Linked DNA regions of Homo sapiens: all the other regions are linked to region 1. Evidence: promoter capture Hi-C in 16 types of primary human blood cells and fetal thymus (Javierre and others, 2016). All regions are on one chromosome and are shown on one strand. The core of a region is centred on a gene start or on the middle of the fragment in contact, and the rest is flanking DNA. Distances in the headings are between cores, read along the strand shown.

Region 1 (2,677 bases), core at 63-2,562:
TGCAGATGTCTGAGTCTCACCGCCCGAATTTCTGAATGTATAGGTCTAAGGCGGAGTTCAAGGGGATCCTCCCAGGTCTCAGGAGGTTGTACACTGAACATAGGTTGGTGGTCGCAGTTGTTCTACCACTGTGTGACCTTGACGCAGGGAGAGGAAATATTCATTTACAGAAAACGTAAAATAACGTGGAGAGAGAGTGAGATGGTAACCGGAACTCAGAAATGCAGGTGGTGTGTGACCCACGGTATTTTGCTAGGGTGTGGCTGGGCACGACTCATCCACCGGAGAAGCTGCAGAATCGATTTATGAGGGTCTCAGGAATGCAAAGACACACAGATTCGTCTCACCTAGAAGTCACGTTTCATTTTAATCTCCAAGCAGACAGCGCAGCAGCAAACCTGGGGCTGTGGAGTGGGGCCCCACACCCTCCGCCCACTCTCCCGCCCCCGTCCACGCCTAGACTGCAGGAAAGGGGTCTTCGCACACAAAGCCAGACCCCCAGGCGTGGGAAGATGGAACCAGAACAATTCGAACGAGCAGAGCAAAACAGATCGGAATTGCAGACTTCAGGTCGTGGCAGAGAAAACCAGCTGAGACAGGGCGCCACTTACTAGGTGATTCTTTATTCCAAGTTGGGGAACGGAGGAAGACGAGAGGGGGAGCCCCCGGGTCCGGTGAAACGCTCTAGGAGAAATGCGGCTCCTTCGCGTCCCCTAGGGCACCCTCTGCCCCCGGCCGGGTTCCGAACTAAGATGTGGCGACCCCGACCGGCCCGCCCCCCTTCCGGGGCTGCCTTCGCGATCCCGAACTGCACCCTCCCGGATCCCCCACCCTGGGCCCAGCCTCAGGAAGTGGCGGGGCGCCCAGCGGGAGCGGGAAGCGCGGGCTAAGGGCGGGCGGGCGGCCACGCCCAGCCGGGTCGCCGGGTCGCCCATGGCCGGGAGGGGAACGCGCCCGCGGCCATCCCCGTCCCTCCCCAACGCCAGGCCCCCCCCGGCCAGCCGCCCGGGCTCCCGGCGCGCTCACCGCCTTCATAGCGGAGGCCATGTCGTCGTAGCGCTCCGCCTGCTCGGCCAGCCGCGCCCGCTGCAGCAGCTGCTCCCGGTCCCCCATGTCGCTCGCGGCTCGGCCTCGCCTCGCGCCTCACACCGCTGGCTCGCTAGCCCTCCCGCCGGTCAGTCCGCTCCCCGGTCGCTGCGGAGGCCGCCGCCGCGCACGCGCACTGGCTCGCCGGCCGGCCGGAGGCTGCAGGCTGCAGGCTGCAGGCAGCGCCGCCGCTCGCGCCCTCTCGCTGGCTCGCCCCGCGCGCTGTGGCTCGCGCCGCGGACAACGCCGAGGGAGGAGACGCGGCCGCGCTGGGGGATGGGAGGACGGGACGACGCCTGCGCAGTGAGAGTGGCCAGGCCGGGCGGCGGGGAGCGGCGGGAGTGGGAGGGGGGAAGGGCGGGCCGGCCCTAACGGTCTATTTCAAGGTGACGTCACCTACTATAAATAGCCACCGCCGCCGCCGCCGCCCGGCCTGAAAGCCGCGCAGGCGCTCTGCGAGTGCTGCATTTTACCGCCGCAGAGATGGAGGTGGAGAAGGGAAAGCCGGGCAGGAGACTGCGGAGCCGGTGGAGGGGGCGCGGTGATGGCGGCTGCACAGGCAGTGCATTGTCATAGCCCCACCCTGAAACGCGCCACTCCATCCACGTTAGAGATCTGGCTTGAGAAGGGCCCCAAAAGCAAGCAAACATACTGGCGGAGAAGCCGGGAGACCGCGTGCCCCGAGGGGCGGGTCCGCCCAGCCCCGCCCCAGCCGTCCCGCCCGCCCCGAGCCCTGCCTGTCCATGCGTTCTGCTGGGCCACACCTTGTACTGGTCCGGGCAGGATCGAGTCCGACCCTCGGGGACAGCCCCGCTACACAGACACACACAATCGAACCCAACCTGAGACGTAGCCTTGGGCAGGCTGTGCCTTCCACCAGAGGAGGGGACTGGGTGGCCAGGGCGGGACAAGTAATATTCAGGACACATTAGGAGCCAGCCCAGTGCTAGTCCCGTACAAGCATCCTCCTCTTTAATCCTCACTACCCAGCCCACAGTGGGCACAGCTGGTCTCCCCATATTTAAAACGTGGAACCTGAGGAAAAGCGAGGTTAGTGACTTGCTCAGGGTTACGCAGCCTGTAAGTGGTGGGGCCAGGATCTGAGTCCAAACCCAGGCTGAACTTTCTCTTGTGGCAAAGAGCTGGGGTGGCCCAACTGGCTGGTCACTGAGCCCCTCCCAATCCTGGCTGGTATTGGATGCTGAGGGTCCCTTGTGCCAGGCCCTGGACTGGGCTGCCCGACAAGCTAGGAAAATGATGATTAAAACAAGGCCCCCACTTGATTTCAACACGCCAAGGGCAGTGCAGGAGAGGGGGCCTTGGGCTCGCTGAGAATTTTATTGAGCATCTACTGCATGCTCAGCCCACAGGGATAAGCTGGATCTTGAAGGAGAGTCAGGAAAAAGATTAAGGCCTGGGGTACAGCATTGGCAAAGGCTTGGCAGTGACCTGGGAGATGGTGAGAAGAGAGGCCTAAGAATGGGAAGTGAGGTTGGGTAAAACAAGATTACGGAGTCTTTTAAATGCCAGGCCAAAGATTTGAGGCTTCATCCTTAGGTAATTGGGAAGCCATATTTCAGGCCTGGAATCT
Region 2 (2,677 bases), core at 104-2,603, 970 kb after region 1:
TCTACCGATAAAATCCTTAGCTGCAGTCTTCATAGATTTTGTTTTTCAAATCAGTTTGTTTCCAGCAAAAAGGTAGGCAATAAGCTATCGGAAATGCCCAGCAAGTAAGCTAATGGCCTGCTCAAAGGGCCAGCCTCCAACTCTCCCTACCACCTATATTTGGTGGTATCAGACATCAAAAGATTCATCTTAAAAGAACATCTCTCGGCACAAGGCAGAGCAATTAAAAAAAAAATCTATTACTGGCTAGAAGAAACTTTTCCAAATGGTTTCATTTTAAATCACATGAGAAGGGGTGTTCAAAGATTGTCGCTTGAAGTTCAACTGTTAAAGTGAGCTGAATAGTCATAATAATTCTGGAGAATAGGCAGATATGCCAGTGATGAAGAAAAAAGAATTCAGCCTTTTTTTTTTTTTTTTTTAAAGCTTATTAGCTCATTTATCTTGGAAACAGTAGTTAAACTGAATAAAAACCAAGGGGCAATATAACTGCTACTGGTTGAGTCATACAGTGATGTGTAGTTTGGAAAAGAAGACGAATGATAGATATTGAGCCCCTTTAGGAAATGTTGCCAGTATTTGAATTTGGCTTTCATAGTTATCTCTTGCACACGAAGTAGAGTACCATGGCTGATAACAAGAGGTCAAATGTACAAGTTGCTCTAATATGGCCTCAATGAGGCACCAGCTTCAAAACCCGCTTGCTGATAATTCAGGTATTCATGGAGGGTCAAGACTTCAAAGTCATGTACTTCAAGTACCAGTAGAGCATCTGGTGTTGCTTAAGGGAGTCTGTCAGTGTAGGGTGCATAGAATTGTTCTCTGGCTATATCCCATTCTAGGAATCACTGGATATCCATCTGGAGTGGAGGGCTGTTAATCTAGGTTCACTTGACACCATCTTCAGCAAATGATCATTCCTGGGGTCAAAGACATGCCTGTCTTCTTGCACTTTTCTAAGTTCACACACAGTATTTCTAAGAATGTTCAGCATCTACTGAACATGAACTGTGCTGAGTGGAGGTACAGAAAAGATTGGAATGCCATTCAGGTCAAACATATTGCTGTCTGGGGCAGTGGTTTTCAAACTGTGTTCGGAAGAGTTCAAGGTGTTGTAAGGAAGTCCCCTTAGGTGTCACCACGGTGGTAAAGGAAGATAGTTGTAGCAGGATTCAGGCCCCTACTCTTGCTTCACTACTTCATCCAGAGCAGCTTCACTTTTACTCTGGGCTTCTGCACAGTTTTCACTCAAAGGGCTTCATGGCCACAAAGCCTTTGGAAAACCAATGATCTAAGAATAAGTCGGTCACAAAATGCTGAAATACAAAAAATAGGTCACAGAAAGCAGAAACTGTAAGCAAAGCCTGTGGTAAACCAAGGTGTTTTCCTATTCTTTCCCTAAGATGGACCACATTACAGGTTGATGGAGTTAGAACTCATCTGCTATAAATTTTGATTGCCTGCAGTTGGGCTTGTAAGTATCTATCAGAGAACAAGGCTAATGATTTTCAGTTGTAACAGCACTGGGGTTTTTGCCTAAGGATGCAAAATGCATCCAATTCTTTGTAAGTATTACTCCAAGAAGTCCATGGCTGGATGACTTCTCAAGCATTATCTCAAGGAGATAAATCTCAAGAAAATATCTCCTCATCCCTTTTCTCCCCTTCCCAACCTCCTTAACCCACCTGAGATGCAATGTCCTTGAACTAAAGTTATGATACAATTCTAGGGATACAGAAGTATATTGCTAAATGTCATGGAATTTATCCAATTTGGGGTGAATTAACTTTCTTCCATTCCTTTCCTATGTCTCCCCATACATCTTCTAGGGATTCCCTTGACAGAAAATAAAGGTAATGGTCAAGATGCAAGACTCTCAGATGACAGAGACATACTAATTCAACCATTAATAAGAAGGTATGAGAAAGGGGGATTTTGAAGATGCTGTTTATTCTGGGGTGTCCAGGGCAATCTGCTGGCAATCAGGAAGCACTGGTTATACTGCTCTAGAGCAGTTTCTGCATTCCATTAGATGGAATGATGCAAAAAAATATCCTTCTGTGTTTGATTAAACTTAGGACACAAAGGGTTAAACAGCAAAATGGAACTCTTTACTAGAAGTCTTTTTTTTTTTTTTTCAGACTTCTGAATTTAAGCACAGAAGCAGTAGTAATTTGCTGCAAGTCTCCTGAGATCCTTTAATACACTATACCTCAATGTAGACTGGGGGAAGGGCCATGTCTTACATACTTTACTATCTTACTAGGTAACAGAAGCTTTCTCCATGTCATATTTACACACACACACACAATACTGACTTTAAAAAAACCAGGTGGCTCATTTTGTGTAAATACTAGTTTGCAAAGATAGGACCATAGACAAGCTCTTAGGGCCCAGGAATATCAGTAAGTCTTAAAAAATCTAAAAGTAGCTTTGTGTTTCATATTGGGTAGCTTTGCTGTTAGAACATGTCCCGTTTTTGACTTGACAATCTACCACCACGGAGATATTATGCCCTTAAACCGTGGGATATTGCCATGGGATTCTGGTCCAGATGTAGCTATCACGTGATCACACATCCTATGTGACTAGGGGCACCAGATCAGGAAGCTGGAAAATTTCCTGAGGTTCCCAATACCCAGCCATTTTAACACTGTGGGTAAAATGGAGGCTAATT
Region 3 (2,677 bases), core at 66-2,565, 660 kb after region 1:
AACCTCCCCTGACACACACCGCGGGAAGAAGTCGTTTGAGGCATCTGAGCTTCAGAGAAGTTAAGCGATTTACCAAAGGCAATGGCAGGGGACAGATTTGAATTCACGTTTCTTAGATTCCAGAGCGCAGGCTTTTTGCTCCCAAAGCAGCAAGAGAGTTTTCTAGGTTTAAATGGGATAATCAAAATAAAGCATTTATTTTTTATTTTTTATTTTTTGAGACGGAGTCTCGTTCTGTCACCCAGGCTGGAGTGCAGTGGCGCAATTTCGGCTCACTGCAACTTCCGCCTTCCGCGTTACAGTGATTCTCCTGCCTCAGCCGCTTGAGTAGCTGGGATAACAGGCGTGCACCACCACGCCCAGCTAATTTTTGTATTTTTAGTAGAGACGGGGTTTCACCATGTTGGCCGGGCTGCTCTCTAACTCCTGACCTCAGGTGATCCGACCGTCTGGCCTCCCAAAGTGCTGGGATTACAGGCGTGAGCCACCGCTCCCGGCACAAAGTAAAACATTTTACCTAAGGACTGGCACAGAGCGTACGCTTAGATGTGAGCTGCTCAAAGGAAGCATGGGTTGTTTCCTGAAGTAGAAGTGGGGGGAATCCCCTGCAGAAGAACGCAACCGAGAGGGGCCTTGGGAAATAGCAAGGATTTGGACAGATAAAGACGTGGGAGGTAGGAGAGAAGCCCTTCCCTACGGCCTTCCTCTCTCATTTGCCTTGTCCCTGAGATGGTTCAGCCCTCTCAGGCCTGATCTTACCTCTGGGGCAGAATTTGACTTTGGGTTGTGTGTGGGGGGAAATTCTTAGGTGACCCACCTTCATCTACCCTAACACTCAGGCCAGGTTCAGCTGTGGAATTCACTCAGGGCAGTCCCTGATGAGAGCTGTTTCCCACCTCATCTCCAGAGACCACCTCCCAGGCCCTGCCAGCCTTCACGACAGAAATCCAGGAAGCGTCTGAAGGGCCAGGTGCAGATGAGGTGCAGGTGTTCGCTCCTGCCAACGCCCTGCCCGCTCGGAGTGAGGCGGCAGCTGTGCAGCCAGTGATTGGGATCAGCCAGCGGGTGCGGATGAACTCCAAGGAGAAAAAGGACCTGGGAACTCTGGGTATGACGGTCCCCCACCCCTGCCCTCGTTGGGATTCATCAAGAGATGTCATTTGCTGATTGTCTAGGGTGTGGCTAATGGGACCTTGTGTCCTATCCTTGGCAGGCTACGTGCTGGGCATTACCATGATGGTGATCATCATTGCCATCGGAGCTGGCATCATCTTGGGCTACTCCTACAAGAGGTCAGTAGCTTCTCTTCTGGGCCCTCTTAGGAGGAGGGGAGGAAGGTACACAAAGTCAAACTTTGTGGCTTTCTTACCCAAAAGGAAGCAAGATGTTGAAAATCAGCTCAAGATGTAGAGACTTGGTCCTAGTCTTTATCTGCTGACCTTGGACAAACCCTTTCCTTTGGTGCCTTTACACCTCACTTAAAAGCCTTGTGAGGGATGTTCTTGTTCCGCATTTTACAAATGAAGAAGCCTCTGTCAGAGACTTGCTCAAAGTCACATAGCCTAGGAGTGGCAGAACCTGGATTCAGACCCAGCTCTTTTGATAGCAAATTCCCTGCTGTCTGATCCCACATGCCTGGCATTGAAGTGAGTGGCACTGCAGAAATCAGGCTTGACACTGATTGCAGGGACCTTAAGACCAAATTCTTTCTGTGAGTTATAAAATTCTGCTACTAGAAAAGGTTTCCAGCCACTGTTGCAGTTGAGGCTTAAATTTCCTGAGCTATAAGCAGTGGGATCTCCTCTGCTAGGGAAGAAAAAAGTGAGTTGGAGAACAGAAAGTCTGTTTGCCACTCTTCACCACGTGTGAGAAAGCCAAAGAGGCTACTTGTGAAACTCAAGGACATGACCTGTGGCTGGGACAGCAGGAGAAGAATGCTTATTTTGAAAGGTCCCACGAGATGTCCGTCAGTGACTGGTGCATGATGGTAAGCCAGACTGGCATTCATCTTTACAGCACTGGCTGATTGTGGAAAATTATTTGCCATTCTTGGGCAAAATCGGGGGATTTGACTTCTAGCCCTGGGTGTCTGTAATATTCTCCTCTGTGGTCTGAGAAAACTTCCTGTGAGGAAAGTGACACAGTAGCCTGCATTTTTCCTTCCTTTCCTCCCTCCCTCCCTCCCTTCCTTCCTTCCCCTTTCTTTCCTTCCTTTCTTTGATTTTTTTTTTTCAGGGTCTCGCTCTATTGCCTAGGCTTGAGTGCAGTGGTGCGATCACGGCTCACTGCAGCCTCAACCTCCCAGGGCGCAAGTAATTACCCCCACCCACCCCCACTGAGTAGCTGGGACTACAGGCATGTCCCACCATGCCTGGCTGATTTTTAATTTTTTTATAGAGACAGGGTCTCACTGTGTTGCCCAGGCTAGTCTCAAACTCCTGGGCTCAAGCAGTCCTCCTACCTCAGCCTCCCAAAGTGTATAGGCATGAACCACCATGCCTGGCATGCAGCCTGCATTTTCCAGTGATGAGGGCCATGTCTGAGCCCACAGCCTCAGTGGATCACCCAGCAGGGCATCTTTAAAGGCCTTGTAGTCAACCTCCTCATTACAGATGAAAAAGGGGAAGTTTGGGTATAATAATAACAGCAGTAGCAAACATGTACCGTATGCCAGACA
Region 4 (2,677 bases), core at 90-2,589, 600 kb after region 1:
AGCCAGAACTGGGTGGTGACTTTGTCTTTGTCATGCTGGGGTTGGGGAGAGGGAGTCCTTTCCAGCAGTGAGTGTGTGTGTGTGTGTACACACGTATGCATATGTGCCTGTGTGGTGGGGTCTGGCCAAGTTTCTAAAGTCCCTCTTGGTTCTCTCTTTTCCAGGCCTGATCACTTGAACGGACATATCAAGCAGGTGCACACTTCTGAGCGGCCTCACAAGTGTCAGGTAGGGGCTGGGTCAGGGCAGAGATGGGCTGAAGGAGATGATGCTGTTCTCACGGTCGCAGCCTTGAGCCAGCCGCTGCGTGTGCCGGGGGCCCGGCTGACCGCCCACCGCTTTGCACACCTCCCCTCTGTTCCTCCACCCTCCCTCTGCTCTCCTCCTTTGTTCTTCCCCCAGGCCCCCTTCCCCCACAGCTGACGTTCCTCCTTCCTGGTTGCTTGGTCCTGGTTCCCACCCTGTCTTTGCCTTCACTCTGTTGCTTGGCTTTCCTCTCCTGGTGTTTGCCGGCTCCTTGGATGGTGGGCCGTATCACACAGATGTTGTGTTGGGAGACCCGGCACTGCGCTGGGCCTGACTGTTGGTTTCCAGCAGTTTGTAGGGACTGCAGGTTTTTTTAAAAGGGCTCCTGGTGGTCCAGCCAACCACTCTTCCCCTTTTCTGACCTCAGTTAGAGCTCCTCCTGGGTCCCCTCAGCTTAGGGCACAAGGCAGTGGGGGAGGTAGGAGGTAGGGAGTGGGTGGTCCCCTCTCCCACACTGGCATCTGTTTAACCCATCCTAAGCCAGGGTTTCTGGAGGACTGGAGAGCAAAGTGGGCTCTTCTTCTTTTAGCTCTTTGCAAAGTAGCAGGTAGGAAACGCTGGACCAGATAGATTCTCACCCTTGGTTTACCTGCTTGAACAATATCTGGGGGCCCTGCTGGTACCCAAAAGATTGAGTTTCCTCTCCTGGCCACTGAGCCTTCCTGTGTGGATAGCGAACACACCTCTGTCTTCTCCTTGGTTATCTCCCCTCTCCCATGCCAAGTTCCCATCAAGTGAGGGCGAGCCATGATTGTGGGGTGTGCACTGCAGTCTCTGATAGGATAACCTGCTTCTCCTTATCCTGTTGGTGGCAAGGGGAGAGGGTTCAGGGAGACCAGCAGGGAGGGATGAATGTGCCGTAAGTAGGGCAGAGCCCCTGGGGGTCAGGCGTGGACGGTGTTCACAGGTGCTGGGCTAGGCAGTCTCCCTGGAGGATGACCCAGGGTGGGCCTGCTGGGATCTGTCTTTGCCTTGCTGCCTTCTCTCTCTCTGTCTCTGATTCTCTCATCACAGAGCACATTCTGACTCAGGTAGTGTGCTGATTAGCCCGGGCAGAGTAGGAGGAGCCCAGAGGGCAGTGGGGGCAAGCCCGGTGGCCTGGGGGGGTAACCTGCACTCTCTGCCCTTTTTCCAGGTGTGGGTTGGGAGCAGCAGCGGCCTGCCGCCCCTGGAACCTCTTCCTAGCGACCTGCCATCATGGGACTTTGCCCAGCCTGCTTTGTGGAGGTCGTCCCATTCGGTTCCTGACACCGCCTTTTCCCTTTCTCTAAAAAAATCATTCCCAGCCCTTGAAAACCTGGGCCCAGCACACTCCAGCAACACTCTCTTCTGCCCAGCCCCGCCGGGATATCTGAGGCAGGGCTGGACCACCCCAGAGGGCAGCAGGGCCTTTACCCAGTGGCCTGTTGGCTAGCCTGGGCCTCCCTGGAGAGGGTTGACAGTGGAAGGGAACAGGAGGGGCATTTGGCCTGAGACCCCTGCTTTTGGGAGAGGCTAGCAGGGTGGTTCCTGCCCAGCATGCCCAGCTCCTCCCTGGGTGACTCGGAGTCTTTCCCATGTCAGAGCCCCCAAATGGGGGTAGCAAGGAGCACCTTTCTGGAACCCCCTATAGCATCCAAGTTTCTTTCTGGGCTCTCTTGCCTTTTCCCCCCTTTCACAGATGGCACCCCTGGGCATCTGTCCTTGCCTAGGTGATTTTGGAGGTTGGTGCCTTCCTGGGAACTAGCCACCAGCTTATCTGCTTCCCTTCCCCTGGCATCACTTCCCATAGGCCTGGGGTTTCTAGACTGGGGCCTGGCCACCCCTTTCCCCACTCCACGAGTGAGTCGGCCTCCAGAGAAGACTGGCACAATTCCAACTAGAGTCAACCCATGCTGCCCTCTGCCCTTCCCACTCAGATCTAGATCCTGCTTTCATTTCTGGCTAGTGAAGTAGACTTTTGTGTTTTTGAGGTTTATTAGCAGGTCTGCTCAGGAACCAAACTAATGAGTAGCTTTATATTGGGCCACCCCAATATATGGCTTTGGGGGCTGAAAAAGCAGATGTAGACCCCCTCCCTCGGATCCTTATTGGTGTGCCCTTTAGCACTCCGCAGACTCTGCGGGGTGAACAGGAGTGATGATAAAATTTTTCATTCTAACATTTGAGGCTTTGTGTGTTTTGTCCTTGGTCTGTGTCATAACACTGACATCACTGTCCCTTGGTGTACAAATGCGCTCCTGCCCTGCCCCTCCCAACATACACTCTCACAGACCTGCTGGCCCCTCCTCCAGCCCTACAGCCACAACTCCCCTAACGGACCCAGCAGGTGAAGACATGCTGGCTCTCTTGCTCTGGGCTGGCCAGCCAGGTGTGCCTGGACTTGGTTAAA
Region 5 (2,677 bases), core at 106-2,605, 540 kb after region 1:
AAAAGGGTCATTAAAAATACAACCAGGGGGCCGGGCGCGGTGGCTCACACCTGTAATCCCGCATTTTGGGAGGCCAACGCGGGCGGATCACAAGGTCAGGAGTTCGAGACCAGCCTGACCAGCATGGTGAAACCCCATTTCTACTAAAAATACAAAAAATTAGCCCGGCATGGTGGTGCTCACCTGTAGTCCCAGCCCCCACCCTCAGGTGAAAAAGTAGTTCAAGCGATTCTCCAGCCTCAGCCTCCCGAGTTGCTGGGATTACAGGCATGTGCCACTACACCCGGCTAATTTTGTATTTTTAGTAGAGATGGGGTTTCTCCATGTTGGCCAGGCTGGTCTCGAACTCCCGACCTCAGGTGATCTGCCCGCCTTGGCTTCCCAAAGTGCTGGGATTACAGGCGTGAGCCACTGCGCCCGGCCCTTTCTCTGCATTTTCACATGCGCTATCCCATTTTATTATCGTACTGCTCTATTTCCCCTACCAGGTAGTAAGTGCCTGGTAGATCAAAGATCAGGCCTGGCATACAGTGAGCTCCCAATAAACTTCTTCCTAAATGAAGAATAGATTTCTTTCCTTCCTTAGTCTGCAGGCTTGACTCACCTGGATCTTGGCACCTTTGTATCTGATGACACCAGGCACAGTGGTCAGAGTAGTGAATTCATAGGCTGCCACCTCAGAATATACCCCTGCCAGGTTACTAAGCAGTGTTGACTTCCCCACAGATGGAAAACCAACAAATCCAATTCGAGCATCACCTGTCTTGGCCACATCAAAACCTAAAACATCAATGAATACCAAAAAGAGGAGAGTTATCCCCCAGAGTGTTAAGACTCATATAACTTCTTTCACATTTTTACTGCCTATCCCTCTAGGCACTATTTCTCAAACTTTTTATGGTTTACCTTTAAAGGAGAACTAAAGCACACAAAACTTGAGGGCACAGCAATTCACAAAATTCAATGCAGTGTTTGATATAAAAAAACTGTATTCAAAAAAGTCAGGCACAGTGGCACACATCTATAGTCCCTGCTATTCCAGAGGCTGAGGCAGGAGGATCTCTTGAGTCCAAGAATTCAGGTCAAGCCTGAGCAACATGGCAAAACCCTGTCTCTACAAAAAATACAAAAATTAGCCAGGCATGGTGGCATATGCCTGTAGGTCTCAGCTACTTCAGAGGCTGAGGTGGGAGGATCGCTTGAGCCCAGGAGGTTGAGGCTGCAGTGAGCTGTGATCACACCACTGTACTCCAGCCTGGGCAACAGAGCAAGACCCTGTCTCGAAAAAAAAAAAAAAAAAAAAGGTACAGCCCAAATATATGTATGAAAAATGATCCAAAAATAGAGTTGTTAGCTACTCTACCTATGGTGTAGCCCTGCTCTGCCTATGGAGGAGCTGCCCTTTTATAACTAAAATAAACAAATTAATTAATTAAAAAGAGTTTTGTTTTTGTTTTTTTGTCTTTCAAATTCTGTAAATTGTATGACTGACTGGGTTTTCTTTTTTTCTTTTTTCTTTTTACAATGGCTGCCAACAAGTTCAGAGTCAAATCTGTGGCCCTTCTCTACCAGGTGCACAGATCTTACGCCATTCCTTTTAGTCCTAAATCTTATCTCGCTTGGCTTCGACTTATTTTTCCTACGTTTTCCCTTTGCATCAATTTTTTTACTTATTTTTAATCTTGTTGATGATATAGGTTTACATTTCTGTAAGCCAATATAAATCTACTTTGGTTTTGTTTTTTCTTTTTTTTTCTTGAGACAGAGTCTAGCTCTGTCACCCAGGCTGGGGTACAGTGGCATGATCTCGGCTCACTGCAACTTCCACCTCCCAGGTTCAAGCGATTCTCCTGCCTCGGCCTCCTGAGTAGCTGGGATTACAGGTTCGTGCTACCATGCCCAGCTAATTTTTGTATTTTTAGCAGAGACGGGGTTTCACCATGTTGGTCAGGCTAGTCTCGAACTCCTGACCTGTGATCTGCCCACTTCGGCCTCCCGAAGTGCTGGGATTACAGGAGTGAGCCACCGCGCCTGGCCCTACTTTGGTTTTCTTAAGATGAGATCTCGCTCTATCACCCAGGATGGAGTGCAGTGGTGCCATCACAACTCACTGCAGCCTCAACCTCCTGGGTTCAAGCAGTCCTCCCAACTCAGCCTCCCAAGTAGCTGAGACCACAAACATGCACCACCATGCTAGGATACTTTTTTTTTTTTTTTTTTTTTTTGAGACAGAGTCTAGCTCTGTAGCCCAGGCTGGAGTGCAGTGGTACAATCTCACTCACTGCTACCTCTGCCTCCTGGGTCCCGATTCAAGCAATTCTCCTGCCTCAGCCTCTCAAATAGCTGGGATTACAGGCATGCGCCACCATGCCCAGCTAATTTTTGTATTTTTAGTAGAGATGGGGTTTCACCATGCTGGCCAAGCTGGTCTTGAACTCCTGATCTCGTGATCCACGCCTTGGCCTCCCAAAGTGCTAGGATTACAGGCGTGAGCCACCGCACCCAGCCTTTTTTTTTTTTTGGTACATCTTCTTTCATACCTATGGGGACCCCTCATTTCTAAGCCCATAGAGACAGGGCTTTGCTGGTTCCGAACTCCTGGCCTCAAGCAATCCTCCCGCCTCAGCCTCCCAAAGTGCTGGAATTACAAGGGTGAGCCACTGCACCCAGCGCATGT

The links. The method cuts DNA at HindIII sites, captures the fragments that hold promoters and counts their contacts. A CHiCAGO score of 5 or more calls a contact.
Region 2: a fragment that was not itself captured here is called in contact with the fragment with the promoter of YWHAH in region 1 in 1 of 17 cell types (neutrophils); the score reaches 6.5 in neutrophils.
Region 3: a fragment that was not itself captured here is called in contact with the fragment with the promoter of YWHAH in region 1 in 1 of 17 cell types (fetal thymus); the score reaches 5.0 in fetal thymus.
Region 4: a contact is called between a fragment that was not itself captured here and the fragment with the promoter of YWHAH in region 1, in 2 of 17 cell types (neutrophils and fetal thymus). The highest score is 5.9, in neutrophils.
Region 5: a fragment that was not itself captured here is called in contact with the fragment with the promoter of YWHAH in region 1 in 1 of 17 cell types (fetal thymus); the score reaches 8.0 in fetal thymus.

The regions. Positions count from the first base shown.
Region 1 is chr22:31,943,170-31,945,846 of GRCh38, reverse strand. YWHAH (tyrosine 3-monooxygenase/tryptophan 5-monooxygenase activation protein eta) reads right to left here and starts at 1,312. Exons shown (of 2, transcript NM_003405.4): 1 at 1,027-1,312. The coding sequence starts at 1,113. It overlaps YWHAH-AS1 (YWHAH antisense RNA 1), which reads left to right and starts at 481. Exons shown (of 3, transcript NR_171018.1): 1 at 481-614. LOC124900477 (a long non-coding RNA gene) reads right to left here and starts at 1,013. Exons shown (of 3, transcript XR_007068065.1): 1 at 612-1,013; 2 at 169-347. RefSeq lists enhancers at 342-391, 1,135-1,992, 1,993-2,677 and silencers at 712-1,051, 1,122-1,341, 1,352-1,441, 1,722-1,871. The HindIII fragment of the contact is 4,478 bases long and covers 1-2,677 here.
Region 2 is chr22:30,973,809-30,976,485 of GRCh38, reverse strand. It overlaps TUG1 (taurine up-regulated 1), which reads right to left. Exons shown (of 3, transcript NM_001396518.1): 3 at 1-1,316. Among named protein-coding and RNA genes, the nearest start is that of TUG1, 5.9 kb to the right of the region's middle. The HindIII fragment of the contact is 1,850 bases long and covers 429-2,278 here.
Region 3 is chr22:31,287,930-31,290,606 of GRCh38, reverse strand. It overlaps PIK3IP1 (phosphoinositide-3-kinase interacting protein 1), which reads left to right. Exons shown (of 6, transcript NM_052880.5): 4 at 908-1,108; 5 at 1,214-1,292. Among named protein-coding and RNA genes, the nearest start is that of PIK3IP1, 3.2 kb to the left of the region's middle. RefSeq lists enhancers at 1-126, 1,274-1,323. The HindIII fragment of the contact is 5,705 bases long and covers 1-2,677 here.
Region 4 is chr22:31,340,448-31,343,124 of GRCh38, reverse strand. It overlaps PATZ1 (POZ/BTB and AT hook containing zinc finger 1), which reads left to right. Exons shown (of 5, transcript NM_014323.3): 2 at 165-228. Among named protein-coding and RNA genes, the nearest start is that of PATZ1, 4.6 kb to the left of the region's middle. RefSeq lists enhancers at 1-458, 2,134-2,677. The HindIII fragment of the contact is 3,977 bases long and covers 1-2,677 here.
Region 5 is chr22:31,401,132-31,403,808 of GRCh38, reverse strand. DRG1 (developmentally regulated GTP binding protein 1) reads right to left here. Exons shown (of 9, transcript NM_004147.4): 3 at 605-780. Among named protein-coding and RNA genes, the nearest start is that of DRG1, 2.9 kb to the right of the region's middle. The HindIII fragment of the contact is 3,534 bases long and covers 1-2,677 here.